6 separate regions of the Homo sapiens genome follow, and all the other regions are linked to region 1. The links are contacts of gene promoters, found by promoter capture Hi-C in blood cells and fetal thymus (Javierre and others, 2016). All regions are on one chromosome and are shown on one strand. Each heading gives the region's core, a stretch centred on a gene start or on the middle of the fragment in contact. The rest is flanking DNA. Distances are from core to core; before and after follow the strand shown.

Evidence for each region. The method cuts DNA at HindIII sites, captures the fragments that hold promoters and counts their contacts. A CHiCAGO score of 5 or more calls a contact.
Region 2: a contact is called between a fragment that was not itself captured here and the fragment with the promoter of KAT2B in region 1, in 1 of 17 cell types (non-activated CD4 T cells). The highest score is 5.2, in non-activated CD4 T cells.
Region 3: a contact is called between a fragment that was not itself captured here and the fragment with the promoter of KAT2B in region 1, in 1 of 17 cell types (non-activated CD4 T cells). The highest score is 5.4, in non-activated CD4 T cells.
Region 4: a fragment that was not itself captured here is called in contact with the fragment with the promoter of KAT2B in region 1 in 1 of 17 cell types (fetal thymus); the score reaches 6.2 in fetal thymus.
Region 5: the fragment with the promoter of OXNAD1 here is called in contact with the fragment with the promoter of KAT2B in region 1 in 1 of 17 cell types (fetal thymus); the score reaches 7.0 in fetal thymus.
Region 6: a contact is called between a fragment that was not itself captured here and the fragment with the promoter of KAT2B in region 1, in 6 of 17 cell types (total CD8 T cells, naive CD8 T cells, monocytes and 3 more). The highest score is 9.1, in total CD8 T cells.

Annotation. Positions count from the first base shown.
Region 1 is chr3:20,039,097-20,042,531 of GRCh38, forward strand. KAT2B (lysine acetyltransferase 2B) reads left to right here and starts at 1,350. Exons shown (of 18, transcript NM_003884.5): 1 at 1,350-1,684. The coding sequence starts at 1,382. RefSeq lists silencers at 612-1,251, 1,422-1,551, 1,752-1,811 and enhancers at 975-1,945, 2,662-2,851. The HindIII fragment of the contact is 5,734 bases long and covers 1-3,435 here.
Region 2 is chr3:15,860,302-15,863,840 of GRCh38, forward strand. The region is part of intron 1 of LOC107986064 (a long non-coding RNA gene); the gene reads left to right. Among named protein-coding and RNA genes, the nearest start is that of MIR563, 12 kb to the right of the region's middle. The HindIII fragment of the contact is 497 bases long and covers 1,669-2,165 here.
Region 3 is chr3:23,812,211-23,815,669 of GRCh38, forward strand. The region is part of intron 3 of UBE2E1 (ubiquitin conjugating enzyme E2 E1); the gene reads left to right. Among named protein-coding and RNA genes, the nearest start is that of UBE2E1-AS1, 7.0 kb to the left of the region's middle. The HindIII fragment of the contact is 7,557 bases long and covers 1-3,459 here.
Region 4 is chr3:16,297,068-16,300,393 of GRCh38, forward strand. The region is part of intron 6 of OXNAD1 (oxidoreductase NAD binding domain containing 1); the gene reads left to right. It overlaps LOC107986065 (a long non-coding RNA gene), which reads right to left. Exons shown (of 2, transcript XR_001740608.2): 2 at 1-3,097. Among named protein-coding and RNA genes, the nearest start is that of OXNAD1, 34 kb to the left of the region's middle. The HindIII fragment of the contact is 7,562 bases long and covers 1-3,326 here.
Region 5 is chr3:16,263,694-16,267,188 of GRCh38, forward strand. OXNAD1 (oxidoreductase NAD binding domain containing 1) reads left to right here and starts at 1,519. Exons shown (of 9, transcript NM_138381.5): 1 at 1,519-1,812. DPH3 (diphthamide biosynthesis 3) reads right to left here and starts at 1,250. Exons shown (of 3, transcript NM_206831.3): 1 at 1,076-1,250; 2 at 462-536. The coding sequence starts at 1,183. RefSeq lists an enhancer at 1,082-1,391. The HindIII fragment of the contact is 2,642 bases long and covers 1,417-3,495 here.
Region 6 is chr3:23,948,879-23,952,146 of GRCh38, forward strand. The region is part of intron 1 of NR1D2 (nuclear receptor subfamily 1 group D member 2); the gene reads left to right. Among named protein-coding and RNA genes, the nearest start is that of NR1D2, 5.2 kb to the left of the region's middle. RefSeq lists a silencer at 1-154. The HindIII fragment of the contact is 1,040 bases long and covers 857-1,896 here.

The DNA of each region.
Region 1 (3,435 bases), core at 100-2,599:
CCCACATTGCATATAACAAAAAGTAGGGCACTTCTGAAGGGTCCTGAGAAAAAGCCCTGGGCTTTTAAAACCTGCTTAAGAAGGCGATCAACGGTACACCACTTTCAAACGCAGCACTGACTTGTATGCTCCACAGTCATCAACAGTGAAAACAACAGTTTTCAACAAGAGTTGGAAACACTGAGTTGAGGGTTTTTTTTTTCTTTTTAAAGTTTGAGGCCAAAATCGATATTTATTCTTTTGAATTATGCTTATATCTTTTTCCTGGTTAATACGCACGCGGTGGCACAATTTTGAAAACTACGTAACGTTATAGAACCACCACCCAGAAACGAATCCTGTTAACAAACTTTTTGTATTCAAACTTTTTCCACTGCATAGTTTTTGACAATGCTTTTTAGACAATCTTTCTTTTAGCAACCAGCACTTTCAAACAAAAATTACAGAGAATAGTAAGTTTTTTTCCCCTCCTCCGGCAGATTTGACCCAGAAATTGCTATGGGAAGAAAGTGTTAATTATATTAAAAAATAGTTTGACAGAAAGTATTTAAAAAGAGAAAGGGAGAACATCACGTCTTTATTTTGGTGAATTAGCAACAAAGAAAAAGATTAGCATGGACGGGTACTTTTCAAAAATATATTTTTTTTCCTCTGGCTCCCGCTAGGGTGGAGGAAGTTGTCTCTCTGTCAGAGACAGGGTGGAAGAGAGTGAAAGGACAAATGATTGAGAGGCTGCCCCCTCCCACTGGTGCAGGCGTGCGGGGGTCGGATGGGGGGCCGCGGAGGGGGGAGGTGGCCAGCAGGTGCCTGGGCTCCAGGCCCCTACCCCCACCCTCGTCCCCACCCTCACCCACACCCAGGGATTGGCCTCGCCCCCTGGCGGGCGAGCGGTAGGTGTCGAAGCACTGGGGTGGGGGGTGCAAACCCCGCGGGCAGCGGAAAAGAGGCCGTGGGGGGCCTCCCAGCGCTGGCAGACACCGTGAGGCTGGCAGCCGCCGGCACGCACACCTAGTCCGCAGTCCCGAGGAACATGTCCGCAGCCAGGGCGCGGAGCAGAGTCCCGGGCAGGAGAACCAAGGGAGGGCGTGTGCTGTGGCGGCGGCGGCAGCGGCAGCGGAGCCGCTAGTCCCCTCCCTCCTGGGGGAGCAGCTGCCGCCGCTGCCGCCGCCGCCACCACCATCAGCGCGCGGGGCCCGGCCAGAGCGAGCCGGGCGAGCGGCGCGCTAGGGGGAGGGCGGGGGCGGGGAGGGGGGTGGGCGAAGGGGGCGGGAGGGCGTGGGGGGAGGGTCTCGCTCTCCCGACTACCAGAGCCCGAGAGGGAGACCCTGGCGGCGGCGGCGGCGCCTGACACTCGGCGCCTCCTGCCGTGCTCCGGGGCGGCATGTCCGAGGCTGGCGGGGCCGGGCCGGGCGGCTGCGGGGCAGGAGCCGGGGCAGGGGCCGGGCCCGGGGCGCTGCCCCCGCAGCCTGCGGCGCTTCCGCCCGCGCCCCCGCAGGGCTCCCCCTGCGCCGCTGCCGCCGGGGGCTCGGGCGCCTGCGGTCCGGCGACGGCAGTGGCTGCAGCGGGCACGGCCGAAGGACCGGGAGGCGGTGGCTCGGCCCGAATCGCCGTGAAGAAAGCGCAACTACGCTCCGCTCCGCGGGCCAAGAAACTGGAGAAACTCGGAGTGTACTCCGCCTGCAAGGTACGCGCTCGCCGCTCTCGGACCGCGGATGGGTGCTAGGGGCCCAGCCCGCGGGACCCCCCTCCCCCTCCCGCTTCCACCTCCGCCTCCCGCCTCCTGCCTCTCGCCTCCCGCCTGGGGCCGCTGCACCGCGGAAGTGCTCTTGTCGCCCGCGCCCAATTAGCTTCTTCTTGGATAAGAGTCCTGCTGGGTTTGAAGAAGGGGGATCACTAAGACGGAGAGCCCTTCATTCCTTCCGCTTGAAAGGAGTAGCTTCGGCATCCGAGCTCCCGGGCTACCTTGGGGTTTTGTTGCTCTGTAGGAGCTCGCTGGAGTCACTTTCCCGGGAGTGGAGCGGTGCTCTCCATGTGGCGGGTGACCCAGGGGCAAGGAAAAATCTTTTGGGGGACTGAGTGGTCCCTTCTGCAATCGATCCCTTCCTGTGTCCCACTGGGAGGAACTGGGTGCAAGGAGTGGGGGTGGAGAAGACTCCCGGACTCCTGGCGCTTTGGGAAAGCGAAGGGGAGGAAAGCGCGGGGTGGGAAGGTGGGCAGAGTCCGAGGCGAGGGTCTTGTGGTGCCTGGCGCCCTCGGCTGGGGGCGGAGGCACTGCCGCGCGCGGTGACAGCCCTGTCATTATTGTATTATTACTTGTTTAGTTAAAACGCTGTCCCAGCTGCTCGAGGTGTAAACAGGATTTGGCAAAGTGACAGCCCAGCGCGGCGGGCGCTACTGCTCAGTTTGAGGACACCCATTTCTTGCTACCCACTCTCCATGCCAGTTTAGGCACCCTGTCACCTCCAGCTGCAGATCCAGATGTGGAGGCTGTGTTCCCGAGGTGGGAGGATTGCCCGAGGCCGCGGGGCAGGCTGGCCCTGCGCTGTCAGCAGCGGCTTTGTTTTGACAGGGTGACAGCTGAGGGGGGCGGGGACTTGGCCTTGTCAGCTCCTGCGGCCTGTGGCTGAGGCAGGGAAGAGACACACTCACACACACTCACACCTCCCTGTATTCTTCCTGCCTGCTGTAAAGAGGGTCAAGTTCCCAGATTCCAGATTCCCGATTGTCACAACCAAGCTGCAGTGACCACTTCTGAATTTTGACATAACTATAATTTATTCTACTAGAACATCTAGGTTATACTCTTCTTGGTACTTGCAGGAGCTTCTCAGTCACAATGGAATGTCTATGCTTGCTCTTTTTCCACACCATATGCTCAGGTTTATGTTAAGCACCTCTGTATCCTACACTGGTTCAATAAATATTTGTTGAGTGAATGTAGGATCTAGCCCAGTGCTCCTCAAACTTTAATGTGCATGGGAATCTCCTGGGGAAGCTGGTTAAAATGCTGATTATGAATCAGGTGGTCTGAGGTGGAAGCTGAGAGTTTGCATTTCTGACAAACTCCCAAGTGATGCTATGCTAGTCCACAGACCACATTCCAATTCAGACCTGGACAATATATTATTTGTCCCCTTTGATTTTAGCAGAAAAGACAGAAACAAATAATAATGCTATGTGGTTATTTCTGAAGAAGGAATGCAAAAAAGATGAAGTGGGGAGTGTGCTTCTAAGAAAGGTGCAAGCCCAGGAGTTGATCATGAAGGGCATTAGACGAATGAGAACAGGACACCGACTGTAGTAGGCAGAAGGGCGAGCTATGTACAGAATTAAGAACAAGGTCATGGGTACAGGGCATACTGCTTGGGTGATGACTACACCAAAATCTCACAAATCACCATTAAAGAACTTATGTAATCAAACACCACCTGTTCC
Region 2 (3,539 bases), core at 667-3,166, 4.2 Mb before region 1:
GCCAAGGAGTGGGATGAGAGGTGGTCACGGAATGGGGGGCGCTGCTGTCCTCCCCGGGGGCTGCAGGCCGAGACCGGGTGAGGGGCGGGGGTGATGCTGGCACTCTGGACGGAAGGGCGTCGTCTTCGCAGCCGAACAGGTTGTGGACGCCCAATCGTTTTTCTGCCCGTAGTCCCAATCCGAAGCTAAGCTGTGTGGTTTTCCCTTGAAAGCTCCCCAGCCAGGCTTGCTGCCTCCACCCCTTTCGCATCTGAAGCATTTTGCCTCCCACTCGAGAGAAATCAATTTTCTTAAACAAACAAAAAAAAAGATGTGCAGGATTTCTAATAAATAGCATCCTTGGATGGAGGAGAAGAGGAATGACTCCCTCATCCTGCCACACACACCCCCACGCCACCCCGCAGCTCTGAAACGGCTTTTCTTTCTTAGCCAGCCGCACGCTGTTGCCATTCCAGGCTCGTGTGGGAGAAGATTGTTGTGCGCCTGGGTCTGTCCGCCCGGGCGGCTCCAGCCTCTGGTTTATAAAAGGTGCAGATGGTTAAAACACAAACGTGTGACGTCAGGGTCGGTTTTTAAAAGTCTCTTCTACCCACTACATCAGTTGTGTCTCTTGGGATGGACTTTAGAGAATCGATTCGAGCCTAATGGCAGTCTAGAGAAATGGAGATCTTCGTCAGGACTATCAGATTATTGTAATGCTGCACTTATAACAAAAAACTTAGATTTAGCCACGCAAAAAAAAAAAAAAAAAAGAAAATAGAGTGCAAGATAAAAAAACACACCTGATTAACTGATAGTACGACCCTTCCAATATTCTTTGAGATATCCATGCTATGGTTCCATTGAAACAATTTCTTACCTAAAATTATGTCCCTCGTCATGATATTTTCTACTTAAAATGGAGGAATTCTCATAACTGTGATCTAACCGTCATAATGAGGCTAAAAAGGAAATCAAACTGCTCTTGCTTTGCATTCTCTTCAGTAGCTCCTTTACCCTTTATTTCAACTCCAGCAGATAAAATAGAGATACTATTTGTCACCCAACCCCTCCTTATCAGTTCAGTGAGGGTGAATGAGTTAATGTCGTGAAAGCACTTGAGTTCTCCAAAACAAAGATGTTGTGATAATATTACTACAGTACTTTGTGATTACAAGTTAGCTTTGTAAATAATTACCAATGTGCCATATCCAGTCGTGTTCTATCTTGGCCTAGGAGTGTTAGGATTTACCCTCATTTATAAGTAAGCCTGTTAAGCACTATGGATGTTGAGCCAGGAATTAATATAGCCCTCCTCTTCCCACCAAATAATCTCTCCTCTAGGTTAAATTTCTAGAATTTAAAAACACAATGAGAACCTGATTAGGAACATGGCAAAGATGATTTTTTGGGAGAATGTAAGTGTGTTTGAGAGTATGAATTTATGGACTAAATATGCATTTTAATAGATTTTGTGATTGAAGCTAATGAAACTTTCCAGGACTCTTTTGAAATTTTCTAATTAACAGTAATTAATGAAAATGTTTTATGATGTACCATCTGCATTATAGTAGGCATGGAGCTCTCCTTATAGATGATGCTTCACACCTAGCTGGGTTCTCACCCTTCTGCACCATGAGCACCATTTAACTTCTCTGTGTCTCAGTTTCAACATTCATAAAAAAACTAAGCTTAACATTTCCTGGCCTACTCATCTCACACCATCAGATAAGATAGTGATATGAAAGGCTGTGGAAAACTCTGAAGGACCATTACACTATATTATTATTATGACAGCAATTACAGGGTACTTCAAATGTTTGTGGGAAATAGAATTAAAGGTTAAAATTGAAATATAAACTTTATTTCTCAACATACGATTTGTCAAGTTCAAGATGATAAGCAATGATACCAGCCATTTAGTTCATCCTTAAAGAACCGAGGGTCCTGGGAATTCATGTCAATGCAGTCTTTTTTACAGTAATAATGTAATGTTAATAACAGAAGAAAAATGCATGCCTTTTAAAGAATTGTTAAGATTAGGAAACAAAAATAAGTCAGAAGGAGCCAAATTAGGAGTATGAGGTGGATGCCTAACGGGTTTCCATCAAAATCCTAACAAAATTGCCTTTGTTTGATGAGAGGAATGAGCAGGAGCATTATGTTGGAGAAGGACTCTCTAGTGAAGCTTTATTGAACATTTTCCTGCTAAAGCTTTTACTAACTTTCTCAAAAATACTTTCATAATAAGCAGATGTTATCATTCATTGTCCCTCCAGAAAGTCAAGCAAAATCTCTTGAACATCCCAAAAGACTGTTGCCAAGACCTTTGTTCTTGACTGATTTGCTTTTGCTTTGGCTGGACCCTTCCACCTGTTGGTAGCCATTGCTTTGATTGTGCTTTGTCTTCAGGATCATAATAGTAAGGCCATGTTTCATCTGTTAGAATTCTTTGAAGAAGTGTACGAGTGTTTTAGGGTCTTGACCCTACTTGTTTAAAATTTCTATTGACAGCCTTTCTCTTGCCTGAAACTGATCTGGGCCCAATGGTTTGGGCACCCATTGAGTTGAAAGTTTGCTCAACTTTAATTTTTCAGTCAGAATTATGTAAGCTTAACCAATTGAGATGTCTGTGGTGTTGGCTCTTGTTTGTGCGGTTAATCGTCAGTCTTCTTCAATTAGGATACAAACAAGATATTTTCCTCACAAATTGATGTGGATGGTCTGCCACTGTGGGCTTTATGTTTGACATCGTCTTGTCCCTTCTTCAAATGAGTTATCCATTTGTAAACTGCTTATTTTGGGGGGCAGGGGGCATTGTCCCCATAAACTATTCATAAAGCATCAATGATTTCACCATTCTTCCACCCAAGCTTCACCATAAACTTGAGGTTTGTTCTTGCCTCAATTTTAACAGAATTCATGTTGTTCTGATACGGGCTCTTTTCAAACTGACGTCTTATCCTTCTTAGTGCTGCAAACTGTATCCTGTTCAGATACATTATAACAAGTTAATATAAGTTTATGTTGGTGAAAAAAAATTGAAATCCAGCGAGACACAGTGGCTCATGGCTGTAATCCCAGCACTTTGGGAGGCCAAGACAGGTGGATCACTTGAGCCCAGGAATTTGAGACCAGCCTGGCCAATGTGGCCAAAGCCTGTTTCTACTAAAAATACAAAAATTAGCCAGATGTGGTGGTGCGTGCCTGTAATACCAATAATTTGGGTGGCTGAGGCACAAGAATCACTTCAGCCTGGGAGGCAGAAGTTGCAGTGAGCCAAGATGGCACTCCAGCCTGGACAATGGAGCAAGACTCTGTCTCAAAAAGAAAAAAAAAGGAAAAATTAAAATCCATGCATATTTTTTCATAATATGCATTTTCCATGAACTTTTTGAAGATGCCTTGTACATTTTCATAGCTGCTGAAAAAAATAGGAAAAAAAAGTCTATACGGCCAGGTGCAGTAGCTCATGTCTGTGATTCCAGCACTTTGGGAGGCCAAGGTGGGCAGATAACTTGAGGCCAGGAGTTTGAGACCAGCCTGGCCAACATGGCGAA
Region 3 (3,459 bases), core at 590-3,089, 3.8 Mb after region 1:
GATCAACAATGAAGTGAGGGTAACTTACAACTATGTATTAGAATAGAACCATTTATTTAAGGGAGGTCCTGTAACTCCCATACTTTAAAAATTAAGTATAACATTTAACCTAGTTCTCAAGATCGGCGTTGGAAAGGGATGTGAGATTTCAGAAATACTCTAAACTTATTGGTAGGAGTAGAAGTTACTGACAAAGTATTCAGCGGCTATACACAATTTTTAAGATGAGTGTGTGGGAATAGGTTGAAAAGCTAAATGAAGTATTTTGTTTAGTAACAGTGAACTTTGGAAACTAATTAGTGGATTAAATACAAAACTATTGCCGTTTTGGTTACATTCATTCTTAATGTTGATTAGGTGTGGGATGCTCTTCCGTGAAACTTTGTCCTGTTTTGTAAGGAAAGTCATTTTGAGTTTGAAATGCTCTTAAACTATAGTTTATAATTGGAACACTTAATCATTCTGGGGAATTCTTTCCTGGCTAATAATCTCTCAAGATGGTTGAGAAGTGGAAAAACCATAAGACTTAGGCCTAACTCATTATTTTGATGGTGGTGGTTCACGTGGAAGCCTGTAGCTTCCCTTGGTTGTTTGTGTGGAATCCATGTACATTCCCCAAGGTGGTTCTGTGCTGTCTAGTTATTGCTCCTGCTTGGTATTGTGTGTCTCCTATGTGTGTGTTATTAATAACATTGATTAAAACATATAATGGCTTTCTTGTGAATAAGCACAGTCAAATCTAAAATTGTAAACCATTTGAAGATTTTCATGGGATTAAGCATTTAAAAAAAAAAAACAGTGTAAGTACACTTCAGTTTCACATCGTTTTAACTGAGTTTATGTGTGAAAGATTTATGCTCCTGAGGCATGTGGAACTTTTTTATCTTTGGGAAACCCTCCCAATTACCCCTTCAAGGTGAAACGTTTGGGAATTACCTGTGGTCAGGGGATGCACCAAACTGGGTGGCTGTTGGGTGATTGGTGTTACGGAGTCAAAGCTCAAAATACTAAATTTTAAGAAAAATCTCTGATTTGAGAGAAAATACGAGGCATCTTCATTTTGCAAGAGAATGTATATTACATTGTCTTTTAACAATAAAGATGACTTTATTTTCTGAAGATATTTTCCAGTGGGGCCGTTTGAGTAATGTGAATTAAAATTTTTACTTTTGGTTGGCTAATGGTGCTGTCTTAATGTTATATAGTAGTCCCAATATTCAGCTCTCTTAAAAGAGTTCGGTTTTACGTTTTGTGCTGTTACCTTTTGGAATTTAATTATTTAGTATTTTAATGTACTTTATTGGAGATAAAGATGGATTATTTATTTATTTATTTATTTATTTTCTTTTTGAGACGGAGTCTTGCTCTGTAGCCCAGGCTGGAGTGCAGTGGCATGATTTCGGCTCATTGCAACCTCCACCTCCCGGGTCCTGGTTCAAGCAATTCTCCTGCCTCCTGAGTAGCTGGGATTATAGGCACGTGCCACCATGCCCAGCTAATTTTTGTATTTTGGGTAGAGATGGGGTTTCACCATGTTGGCCAGGCAGGTCTTGAACTCCTGACCTTGTGATCTGCCCGCCTTGGCCTCCCAAAGTGCTGGGGTTACGGGCGTGAGCCACTGCACCTGGCCTTGGGGATACTTTTTGAAGTCAGCGTCCAATGAAAATCTATGAATTAAGTGATATATTAAGTGCGTACATGTTTAAAATTACCCTCAGCATGAAAGCATGAGATTTGAATGAGTTAAATAATTGGTTTTCAATTAGTCTGTCTTATATTTTTACCCTTTGCCATACTTCCTTTCTTCAGTCAGCATTCAGTGTGTAGTTTTAAACACGTTATTAAAATATGGCACTTGGCACATAGTAACTTCTCAGTAAATACAAAAATTAGCCGGGCATGGTGATGCACTCCAGCCTGGGCGACAGAGTGAGACCCTGTCTCAAAAAAAAAAGTTGATTATTGCAAATCAGTAGAATTGCTCCTCTTGAAGGAAGGTGCACTGTTTGTGTTCACTAATTTTGGCACTTGGCAAAAATATTTGAAGTTACTGAGCATCAAAACTTATGTGAAATGCAATTGCTCAATATGTTATAATGTATGAAAACATAAAATTAAATTCTTAATGTTGTATATTATGTTGGGTGGATATTTTTTAGAACACAGTACAGATTGTGTTCAATGACCTGGTCCAAAGTCATTTTAAGTAAGTATTTTCAAACTGCTTTATGTTGCCATAGAAATCAAATTCTTAATTTTAGTATCTGTGATTTGTGTGTGTGTGTATATATATGCATACACACACACACAAAATAGTTTCCCAACTCACTCTTCATTTTGGTTAGGCTTTTATTCCCATATCATTTAGCTCTATTCTTTTAGGGAAAAAAATATGTTAACTTTGTAATGATTCCCTAAAGCGTGCCAGATCTTAGATTGTAAAATTATGCCTTTTAGATAGCTGATGAACTCTGGGCCACCAGAGTCAGTTTTGCAGCTGTTATTTATAGCCCAGGGCTCAAACTTTGCTAAATTGACTAGTTATAACTAGCCTGTAGACACGAATATCTGTAGACAGTATGTCTATACAGACTAAATGGCATATTTTGCCTAAGTCCTTTAAACTTCAGATTTTATTTAATGGATATATTTGTTTCATGAGTAAATGTCTCAGTGACTTAACCTAGAAATTCAGATGGGGTGCTATTTTAGGATAAAATGTCTGAAAAGTCATTAAACACTTCAAGCATGGGTGAGAATAATAAAAATACATTTCTTTCTTTCTCACTTTTTTTTTGAGACAGGGTCTCATTTTGTCACCCAGGCTGGAGTGCAGTGGTGCTCACTGCAGCCTTGACCTCCTGGGCTTAAGCTGTCCTCCTGCTTCAGGCCCCCAAGTAGCAGGAACTACAGGCGTTCGACACTACACTCGGTTAATTTTTTGTATTTTTTTGTAGAGACCAGGTTTTACCTATTGGCCAGGCTGATCTTAAACTCCTGGCCTCAAGCCGTCCACCCACTTTGCCCTTCCAGAGTGCTGGGATTACAGGCGTGAGCCATGGTGCCTGGCCCTGATACTAGTTTTTCTGTATGTGACAGAATTTCCATTTAGCCTTCTTTTGATAGCTTTTTTTTCCCTAACACTGCCTATATTTTAAATAGTTTTAAGCCATTATATTATACAAGAATGCATGTTTTTGAAAAATTCAAATACAGAAGTTTGTGGAGTAAAAGGCAAAAGATAGTCCTGATGACCTCTTCTGATCCTGCTCCTTGCACACAGATGCTCCAAGTTAGCACTTTGTATACTTCCACGTAGTTTCTGTGAATTTACATTGTGTTTTTCTGGCATTCCAATACCTCCTCGAATTGGTGGTAATGGTAATGAGATGTCAGTTCAGAAGTCCCAGGCTGCTCATCATGGTTCACAATGGAAAGAGATCCTTTTCTTGCAACAGT
Region 4 (3,326 bases), core at 179-2,678, 3.7 Mb before region 1:
AATATTTACAAATCAGATATCTAACAAAGGGCTTGAATCTAGAATATATAAAGAAATCTCAAAAGTCAACAAAAAGAAACAAGCAACATGATTTTTTTAAATGGACAAAGGATTGAACAGACACTTCAGTAAAAAAGGATATGATGATGGCAAATAAGCAATGAAAGGTATTGAAACATCGTTAACCCTGAGGGAAATGTAAATTAAAACCATATGTGGTGGGATGCCACTACGATCTAGTCTAATGTCTAAAATTAAAAATATTGACAATACCAAGCGTTGGCAAGGATGTGGAGCAACTGGAACTCTCATATATTGCTTATATTGCTAGTGGGAATGCAAAATAGTACAGCCGATCTGGAAAGCATTTTAGCAGTTTTCTATAAAGTTAAACATACACCTAACATATGACCCAGCAATACCACTTCTGAGTGTCTTAGAGAAATGAAGGCTATGTTTATATAAAAGCATAACATGAATATTTATAGCAGTTCTATTCATAATTATTAAAAACTTCTAGAAACAACCCAAATGTCCCTCAGCAGGTGAATGGATAACTTGTGATATAGTCATACAAGGGACTATTAAAGAGATGAATTATTGATGCATGCAGCAATGTGGGTGAATCTCAGAGGCATTCTGTTGAGTGCAAGGAGGCAGTCCCAAAAGGTTACATACTGTAAAATCCCATTTTTGTCACATTCTGGAAGACAAAGATATAATGATGGGAAACCAGTGGTTGACTGGGGTTGAGATTACTGTAAAGGTAGGATCGATAGCACAGGGGAATATTTTCAGGGGGTGATGGAACTAATATATGTTTTGATTTTGATGATTGTTACCCAGATCTATATGTGTGTTAAAATTCATAGAACCGTATACCAAAAGAAAAAGATTTCTATTAAGGAAATTTTTAAAATAAGTTTTTAAAAATGTGCAGGAGCAACATAATATATTCTTGTGGTTTACACGTCAAGTTGTGTCTGTCCAGGATAACCCCCAGATGCCTGTGTAGGCATTTCCATTGTAAATGTATCCTGTCACATTTTTACCCTGCAACCTTCTGAGTCTCTCCGTCAGTGTGGCCTCAGCTGCCTCATTGCTTTTTGGAGTCTCTGGATTTTCCCCTCATTACTGGCTCTAGGTTGCTCCTAGAGGTGCTAAAATATGCTGCTGGGGTGAGAGCAACGAGGTATCTGCATGCCCCTTGCTCAGAGTTGAAATAAGCATAGCCATCCCAGTTCCTAGTGCCATGAACATCTCCCCATCCTCCCTGTTATCCTTAGCTTCTCACGCGACCTGGCCTGGTCCTGGTCCACAGCTTCCTGCTTGGTTTCATGCCTCATTGGCATTTCAGTGAAGAAACTTATTCTTACAGGCTGTAGAAAATCTCAAAGTGTTATTGCCTGAATGCACATCCTAATTGTAGTGCCTGCTCTACTCTGCCCAGTGGGAGTTGCAAACAGCCTTTATGAAGTCAGATTTTTCTTGGAATCATTTTCAGGTGGCTATTTTCCTCCTGAGGATTTGTCTTATTAAGCCATTCGAGTGGACAATGGAGGCACGTGAGTGTCTGGGTGGCAGCAGGCTGCACCGTTGAGACATGGAATAAAGTGCCATAAACGTCTTCCTTTATTTTATCTGCTTTGGCTCAAGCTCTTGGCAGGGTAAAGGGTTCTAGACAGCTATTGTGTGCTCAGCTCCAGTTGCTGTGGAAAGGTTGTTTATTTCACAAGTAGAAAATCTATACCAAAATTAGATACATTGCTGTGTAATTGAAGGTAATGTCCTTTTATTCACTTACATATTACAGTGTACAGTACTTTGAGTCTTGTGTTCGTGTTACCCTCGCAGTTTTTATTGATCAACAAAAAGACAAAGATGGCTTTTAATTCTTCCCGGATGCTACCAAATCAGAATACAGACCTACCGAAGATTATTTTGTCGTCAAGGATAAGACAGGCTTCTTGAATATTATCTTTCCCTGGGGCACATTTTCTTGCCAACTTTAGAGTTGAAAATACTCTGGTTTCTAAAAACAATAACCTAGAGGCTTTCTTTGTTGTCATTACTAAGCATGCCAAAGATGGCCACTGGAGAAAATTATTTCAGTCTCTTTCACTCTGATTCTTATAGATAAAGAGAGAACTGCACAGGCAAGCAAGAGAGGGAGGGAAGGAGGATATAGGAGATGAAATTCATTGTCATCGTTAGGCAGAGCCTCTTGTATCTTAAATTCTATTTTTGAGACTTGAAAGGAAAGAATATTTTAAAGCACTTTGGTAGCCACTGTAGCAGTTCCTAGATTTTAGTTATTCCTAACTGAATGCTCCCTTGCTGCTAATTTCTTTTGTCAAAAATGAAAACCCACTTATCACCATTCATGTAAAAATCTCCCACATATTTAAAATAGTGAGGTTCAGACATTTTTTCCCCTGAAAGAGTATCCATTCATTTAACAGTTCTTTACCAAAAAAGACATGTTTTTGTGAATTCAAATAATTTTCATTTTTCTTAGATCTTCTCTAAATTTAACTCAACTTTAACTTGCAGAGACCAAATTAAATTCATGTCCAGAAGTACCTACTGCTCACCTGACATGCAAGGTGCCAAGGTGTGAATGCTAAGGGTTTGGTTCTCAAAAAGCACGCGATGTGTTATTACTTCTTAGGAGGGCATTCATTTAGTTGATTTATGCCAGGAACGTGTAATGGGAGAAACCTATGCTCTTAATACAAGTTTCTTTATTCCTAGAATCTGTTTTTTAGTGACAGGGAAGAAGGAAGCTGGTATTGCCAGCACTTTTTCTTTTGTGACAGCTGCAATGACCAAAATTCCTTCTTATGTAGAGCCAGATACTCGGGAGTTCCACCCACTGTGAGTCAGTTCATGTTCACACCAACCCTGTGAGGTGGGCAGTGCAGGTGCTGGTACCCATTTTCCAGGGGTGGCAGATGAGGCTCAGAATTTAAGGGACTTGCTGGATTTCATAGGGGCTATGATTAAAATTCAGTCTTTTGACTCCTAGATCAGTGGTTTTTTTCCAAACAAGGGATTACCAACTCGGTCAGATCCAATGCTCCTTTCTAGAACTGTCCTGAAATGAAAGTCATAGTTAATGTAATGTACCCATAGGTTTTTTTTTAAATAACATAATTCTCTAACTAATACAAAGGAGAAATAAAAGAAAGTGATCCATAATCAAAGAGTATGTATTTTAAAATATAAATGGTTAGGCAGATCTAACTGGAAGATAGAATGAAGTAATCAGATGGCTATTCCTAAACATAGAATCACCGTGAATACACTGTCTACAAATGCAGATG
Region 5 (3,495 bases), core at 269-2,768, 3.8 Mb before region 1:
GCAACTAAAGACTAAAATGAAATTGTAAAGCTGCACCTAGGAATTATATCTCAAACAAGATAATGCAGAATTCTGTGTATAAGCCAGCACGAAATACCATACAATTGTTCCCTTCAAAGTAAGTCTAGCAGCTCTAAACAATTTTAATTACATATTAAATAGAAGAGAAATATAAAAAATTGTCCACTAAAATAATCTATATACTTTCTATTTAATAAATAATAATTTTCACTAAAGCTAGATTTATCTCTAAAGCTAAAATAAATTACGTAATCTGAACTTTAAACGTTTTAATTTACTATTCGGCTGTTTATCAATGGTGTTTAAAACCTGCCTAAAAAAATACCGCACTTTACCTAGCACAATGAAACATTCTCCTGCACTCATCACTGACAAGCTGATCTAAGTCCTTGCCACTGACTTACAATACCCTTCCCCCGTTTTAAAATTATATCCCTTACTTTGTCATAAATCACTTTTATAATGAGAGAGCAGCTAGGACACGTTGCCACGTCTTCCCCATTCTCCAAATCTTCCTACAACGAAATCAAATACCATGTGGTCAGGATAGCTTCTCTTCGCCATCTCCTCCCCCAAACCTATCCCACCCCTAGATGCAAGTCTCTTGGTGGCTTGCCTTCCCCCCAAGGTGGGTGAGAACCCCAGGGCCTTCAGCGAGAAATGCCGACATCATTTTCCCCTAGAAGCGTCACTTAGGGGAAACACCTAGGAAGGTCAGGCGAGCTTCGGTCGCCCCAAAAGCCCTGGGAAACAAAAAACGAGTCCCCTCCTCGACAGAAATATCCCAGGTTGGGACCCTAAGGCAGGGATCGGGCAGAGAGACAGAGGCTCTCCGCCACCCTCTCCCTGACCTAATCTAAGGCCAGAACTGCGTGCCTACCGAGAGAGCTCAGGGCATTAGTTGGGGTGGGGGGACGCGGGAGGAGGAAGATTCAGCAACGGGAAAGAGGGCGTGGGTGACACAGCGCAGCAAAGGCTACCCAATGATGGAAGGAACGGGCGGAACCAAACTGCGCTTGCTTGGGTGAACCGCCGGGCGGGACCCTGAAGTTACCTTGGTGATGGAGAAGTTATCTCCACATGGGCAGGGATAGAAATACGTCTCCGAGTCCTCGTCATATTGGAAGTCCTCGATTTCCACCTCGTCATGAAACACTGCCATGGTCAGCGGGGGTGGCCGAAGGGGTAACGCCCCAGCAGTCCGAGGCCAGCTCCGAGGGTTTAACTTCGCCGGAACCGGCCTGGGCTCGGCATCATCAGGTCGCGCCGGGCAAGGACTAGCCCTTCCGGCGCATAGGCAATGACGCAACTCCGCCCTGCGCGGCCAAATGGATAACCGGTAGCGGTCACCATGGAGATGGCTGAACTAGGGGCGGAGACACTGGGAAGACTGAAAGCTTGCTCAGCGGGGTCGCGCACCGCTCCTCCTATTGGGCGGCAGCGACCAATAGAATGTGGGGCTCGCCCGCGCTGCTACGTCACGTCTGGGACCGCGGAGTATTCCAGGCGCCTGCAACTAAACGTGGCCGGGTCTGCAAGCTAGGTGCCAGCGGGGAAAGTTTCCCTGCTTCTTATCGTCTGCTTTAACGCCTTAAATAGCCCGCTGAAGGCTGCAGCAGGTGCTAGGTAGCAGCCTCCCGGCCCTCGGGAAAGGCGGGGTGGGGAGGCGAGAGCAGCTTAGCCTCCTCGACCTCCCTTCCTGGTGACGGACGAACAGTTCCCGTAGAATTTCGCTTCACCGAGTGACCTTGAGCCCAGGGCGACGGTCAGCTTGTTAATTCCTGGCTGCAGGTACATTCCGCTTCTTCCTCACCCCAGACGCCTTAAAATACCCTAAATTGTGTTGCTGAAAGGACCAAGCCCTGGAAGGCAGGGATTGAGTTCTAGTCTTCTGTTTGCCAGGCTTATAACATTATTAACGACGATGATTTTTAGTAATAGTAATAACATCACCTTTTATTATTGGGAAGTTATGTGCCAGCTATTGCACTAAGTGGAATTGTCAACTCTAGGAGTTTACATGTTATTCCATTTTATTAATCTTTAAACTGAGGTACAGAGAGTTGGGCATCTTGACTAAAATCATACACCTGGGAAATAATGAAGAGCTTGTCTGTCTCCAAAGCCCAGGAACAAATTACTTATGTGAGTACCAGTTTTTTCGTTGTGAAAGAAATGGTGTCAGTAGGCAGGTTTATCAGTGTGAGGCCTATGTATGCCTTGAAGCGAAATGCAGATAAAAGGCATTTTTGTCTTGAAAGCAGTGCTAGTGCCTGTTTTGGTAAAACCGATTACATTGGGTCTTACTTAATTACTAGGCATTTTAATATCTTAGTAGAGAAGAAATGCATTGTAGTGAAAAAGCACTTTCGAGAGAAGATCTGGGATCGGAATCTTGAGTTGTTGATTACCTCTGGCAACTGGATATTTACATTCTTTGGGCCTTATTTCCTCTTCTAAGAAAGGATTGGAGTAGAGATGATATAAGATCCTTTTTAGATGTAATGTTCCACTTTTGCACGGAAATTATGAGCTTTACTTGGTTCAGCAATGATATATAACATTTAGTTTACATTTACGTAACACATATACATAATATATCCCTGTGCACTTTTGAAGAAAACATTACAATGACTACTAAACTTTACATTTATTCCTAAAAGGGCGGATCACGAGGTCAGGAATACGAGACCAGCCTGACCAACATGATGAAGCCCCGTCTTTACTAAAAAATACACAAATTAGCCAGGTGTGGTGGTGTGCCTGTAATCCCAGCCACTCAGGAGGCTGAGGCAGGAGAATCTCTTGAACCTGGAAGGCAGAGATTGCAGTGAGCTGAGATCACGCCACTGCACTCCAGCCTGGGCGACAGAGCTAGACGCTGTCTCAAAAAAAAAAAAAAAAAAAAAAAAGAAGTAGGTCATAATTGTATAATGCAAACTATATTTGATGAGTGCTGTTGTATATCAGGCCAGAAGGAGTTGTTTATTGGCAATACCAAACCTCCACCTCTCTAGGTTGTTTGACAAGGAAGAGAAGGGGTCAATGTATTAGGATTGATTTTAGTAACACTGTTGCTTGCCAGGTACTTTGGTAGACATTTTATTTATTCCTCTCAGTAATCCAGTGAGGTGGCGTGGGTAATGTTAAAATGGCAAGAGGAGACTTGCTGAAGATTAGAAAGCAGGAAGGAGTCACACCTGAGCCCAGTTCCGCTGATTTCCGGTCAAATACTCTGTGTATACTACTTGTTTACCACTAAGGTGTCTTTGCCTGTTGGAGCAAGAGGAGCCCTTTTTCTTCCTCAGTGACACCTAAGATTCTAAATTGACAGATGTCATGATTGTTCTTTGAACTTACTTAATTTCAGTGCATTTATGCTTATTGAGGCATTCTTGGCTTTTCTCTGTCAGTGTCCTCTCACACCCTGCCTAATGTATCAGCAAGTTTTGGGGCTCTAATTCCAAAATATAT
Region 6 (3,268 bases), core at 127-2,626, 3.9 Mb after region 1:
ATGGATCCCCACTCAATTTGCAGTGATATATGTAGGTTATAGCTAGTGGAAAAGGATAGTCATCTGCAGGGCCTCCCAGTTTCATCAGTCCTCTCTTTAGTCATGCTGGCTTATTTCCAGACATTAGATTACACCTTGACCTCCCTTCTCCAGTAATTTACATGGAGATAAAAATAATGTCTATTTTATAAAATAAGACCGATTTGGCTGGGCATGGTGGCTCATGCCTGTAATCCTAGCAATCTGGGAGGCTGAGATGGGCAGATCACCTGAGGTCAGGAGTTCGAGACCAGCCTGGCTAACATGTGAAACCCTGTCTCTACTAAAAATACAAAAATTAGCCGGGTGTGGTGGCGGGTGCCTGTAATCCCAGCTACTTGGGAGACTGAGGCAGGAGAATCGCTTGAACCGAGGAGGCGGAGGTGGCAGTGAGTCGAGATCACACCATTGCACTCCATCCTGGGTGACAGAGCGAAACTCCGTCTGAAAAAAAAAAACAACAAAAAACACACCATTTATTTTTGTGTCACCCTATTTAAAAAATGTCTCTTTTGATGATTTAAACAGTCTTCAATTCCCCACTTAGATATTGCAACCTTGGATGTGTTTGCCCCTATTGATTTCTGCCCTCTTTAGTATGATCCTCAGCAGTCACAATCATGTGTGTGAAACATTGCTCCTAATAACATAGGTGTTTCCCCAGTTGGCCTATAAGGCATTTTAGGGAAAGGACCATGCTGTTCTCTGGAGCCCTGACACCTAGGACACAATTGGAATTTTAGTGCTTCAGTTAGATCTACTCTACCACCCTTGGAGTAGAAATTATTTATAACACTTTTAAAATGAGGGAAACTAAAGCTTCTTGGTGATAAAATGTTTTGTTCTAAGTCACAAGGCAGAAAAGTACAGTCATGACTTGAAGTCAAACATAATCTCCAGGATGGTGGACAGAGGAAGTGTGAGGGTTTTGATGATGGACAAGTGTAGAAAATGGGTAAGAAGACCCCAATATATGCAGGAATATCAGTGCTTCCTAGCAGTACAAAATTGGATATTGACTTAAGGCTTGTCTGAAGTTGACCACTGGGTAAGCCCTAGCCTGGGAACCTGGCCCAGGTCCAGGGTCCCTTTCAACTGAAAATAGAGAAGACTGCTTCAGCTAATTTTAGCTCAGGGTTTCAAAGAGGTACATACTGCCTGTTTCTTGGAGGTGTTGGGACTTGCTGGTTTGGGGATTTTTACTCTTCTTACTTTATCATCAAAAACAGTGTATGAAAAAAGCACTTATGAATGCCATTTCATTTCAGTCTTGTAATAAGTGGCAGATATTCCAATTTTATAGAAGACCACTCAGGTTTAGAAAGATTGAAAGTGACTTGCTTGCTCAGGTCTTCTCACCAAATAAGTTTGTACTCTGGAATTGGACAACCTTGACTTTAAACTTTGGCCTGCCACTTAGTGGCTGACTTATCCTCTCTGAGCTCCTTGTTTAAAAAATGATTTGATGAAAGTTAATTCACAGAGTTCTTCTTGTGAGGATGAAATTGTGTCATTTTATTCCTGACATCCAGTAGGTACTTGGTGACTTGTAGTTTCACTTTCCTTTCTTCATTAGGTTGAGGAACTACTAGATGTACTCCTTTTCTTCTAAGAAATTAAAATTTAACCCATTTGGGTTGCTATCAGTCAGGTTCATAGATGGGTGTCTAGTAGCAAGAATAGATGCCAAGACAACTAAATCAATATTGAAGGTCTTGCTAGGAGAATGCAGCTACTTCTAGATGGGTCTTCTTTGATTTTCTGGTGCCTGGCACAGATGCTTGTTTTCTTAAGACAGGAATTGGATCTTCGCTGGATTGATAATAGCCCAGTAGTTTCTTTTAGGTTGGATATTGAAGCTTTTGCAAAGGAAATTGTTTTTTGGTTAATTAATTACGATACAGTCCATTGCCCCGTCAGTGCTTGCAACCAATTTTTAAGCCATCTGCATAGCTCTAATTTCTTTTCTTTTCTCTTTCTTTTTCTTTTTTTTTTTTTTTTTTTGAGATGGAGTTTTCACTCTTGTTGCCCAGGCTGGAGTGCAATGGTGCCATCTCGGCTCACCGCAACCTCCGCCTCCCGGGTTCAAGTGATTCTCCTGTCTCAGCCTCCTGAGGAGCTGGGATTACAGGCATGCGCCACCACACCTGGCTAATTTTGTATTTTTAGTAGAGATGGGGTTTCTCCATGTTGGTCAGGCTGGTCTTGGACTCCCGACCTCAGGTGATCCGCCTGCCTCGGCCTCCCAAAGTGCTGAGGTTACAGGCGTGAGCCACTGTGCCCGGCCAGCTCTAATTTCTAAAAGTTTATTTCTTAGCTAAGGTAGTCAGCAGATCTTGTGAACATAAATGACTGAAAATGGGGGCCCTAGGAAAGTCTTACTTCCAAGGAAAAACATCACTTTCTTATCTTTTATTTTCCTGAGATGTTAGATGTGAATTTAGTACTTAAGACACTATTTTAGAGAAGACAAATAGCTGTGAGATCTTCCTTTGGAATTTCATTGAGGACTAAGAATATTTGTCTTTGTAAAGTGTCCTATTGTGAGTGGAGACATCTGTGAAAAAGTAGCAGTGTGCTAATACCTGGAATTTTTAATGTGGACTTAAGATCTCTAAAGTTATATAAAGACAGCACAATGGTTTTATCCAGTAACATGACACTGGCTAGGTTTCTAGGTTAAGTTGGTTTCTCTTTGGATTCACAGGGTATTAATGATATTCTGGCGGTTGTATCGATGAAATCATCAATCTTTAAAACTATGGGCCAATTTGTGTTTGAATTCACTGATTGTAGCCATTTTGAAACTTCAATGTGCAAATAATTGCTTGGAGAGCTTGTTAAAATTGCACATTCCTGAGGATGTGTTCTCGTCTGGGCAGGGCCTTGGAAACATGTATTCTGAAAAAGCACCAGCTAGTTTTGAGGATATGTATTTTACATAATTTCTCTGGGTGATGAAAATAAACTCGAAGTTGGGAATCTTTCTTCTTGTGTTTGTAGTTTTGGAGTTTTTAGATTTTAGAATAAATGGTAGATGAAAACTACCTTGGTCACTTTGTCTTCCAGGGAGCACAGATGAAGTAGTTGGCTTGTGGCAGTGTTCTTCAAACTTGGATGTGCATCAGAATCACCAAGAGGGCTTATTAAAGTTTCTGATCCAGTAGATCTGGAGCGGAGCCTGATAATTTGCATTTCTAACAGATTCTGGGTGATACTGATGCCCCTA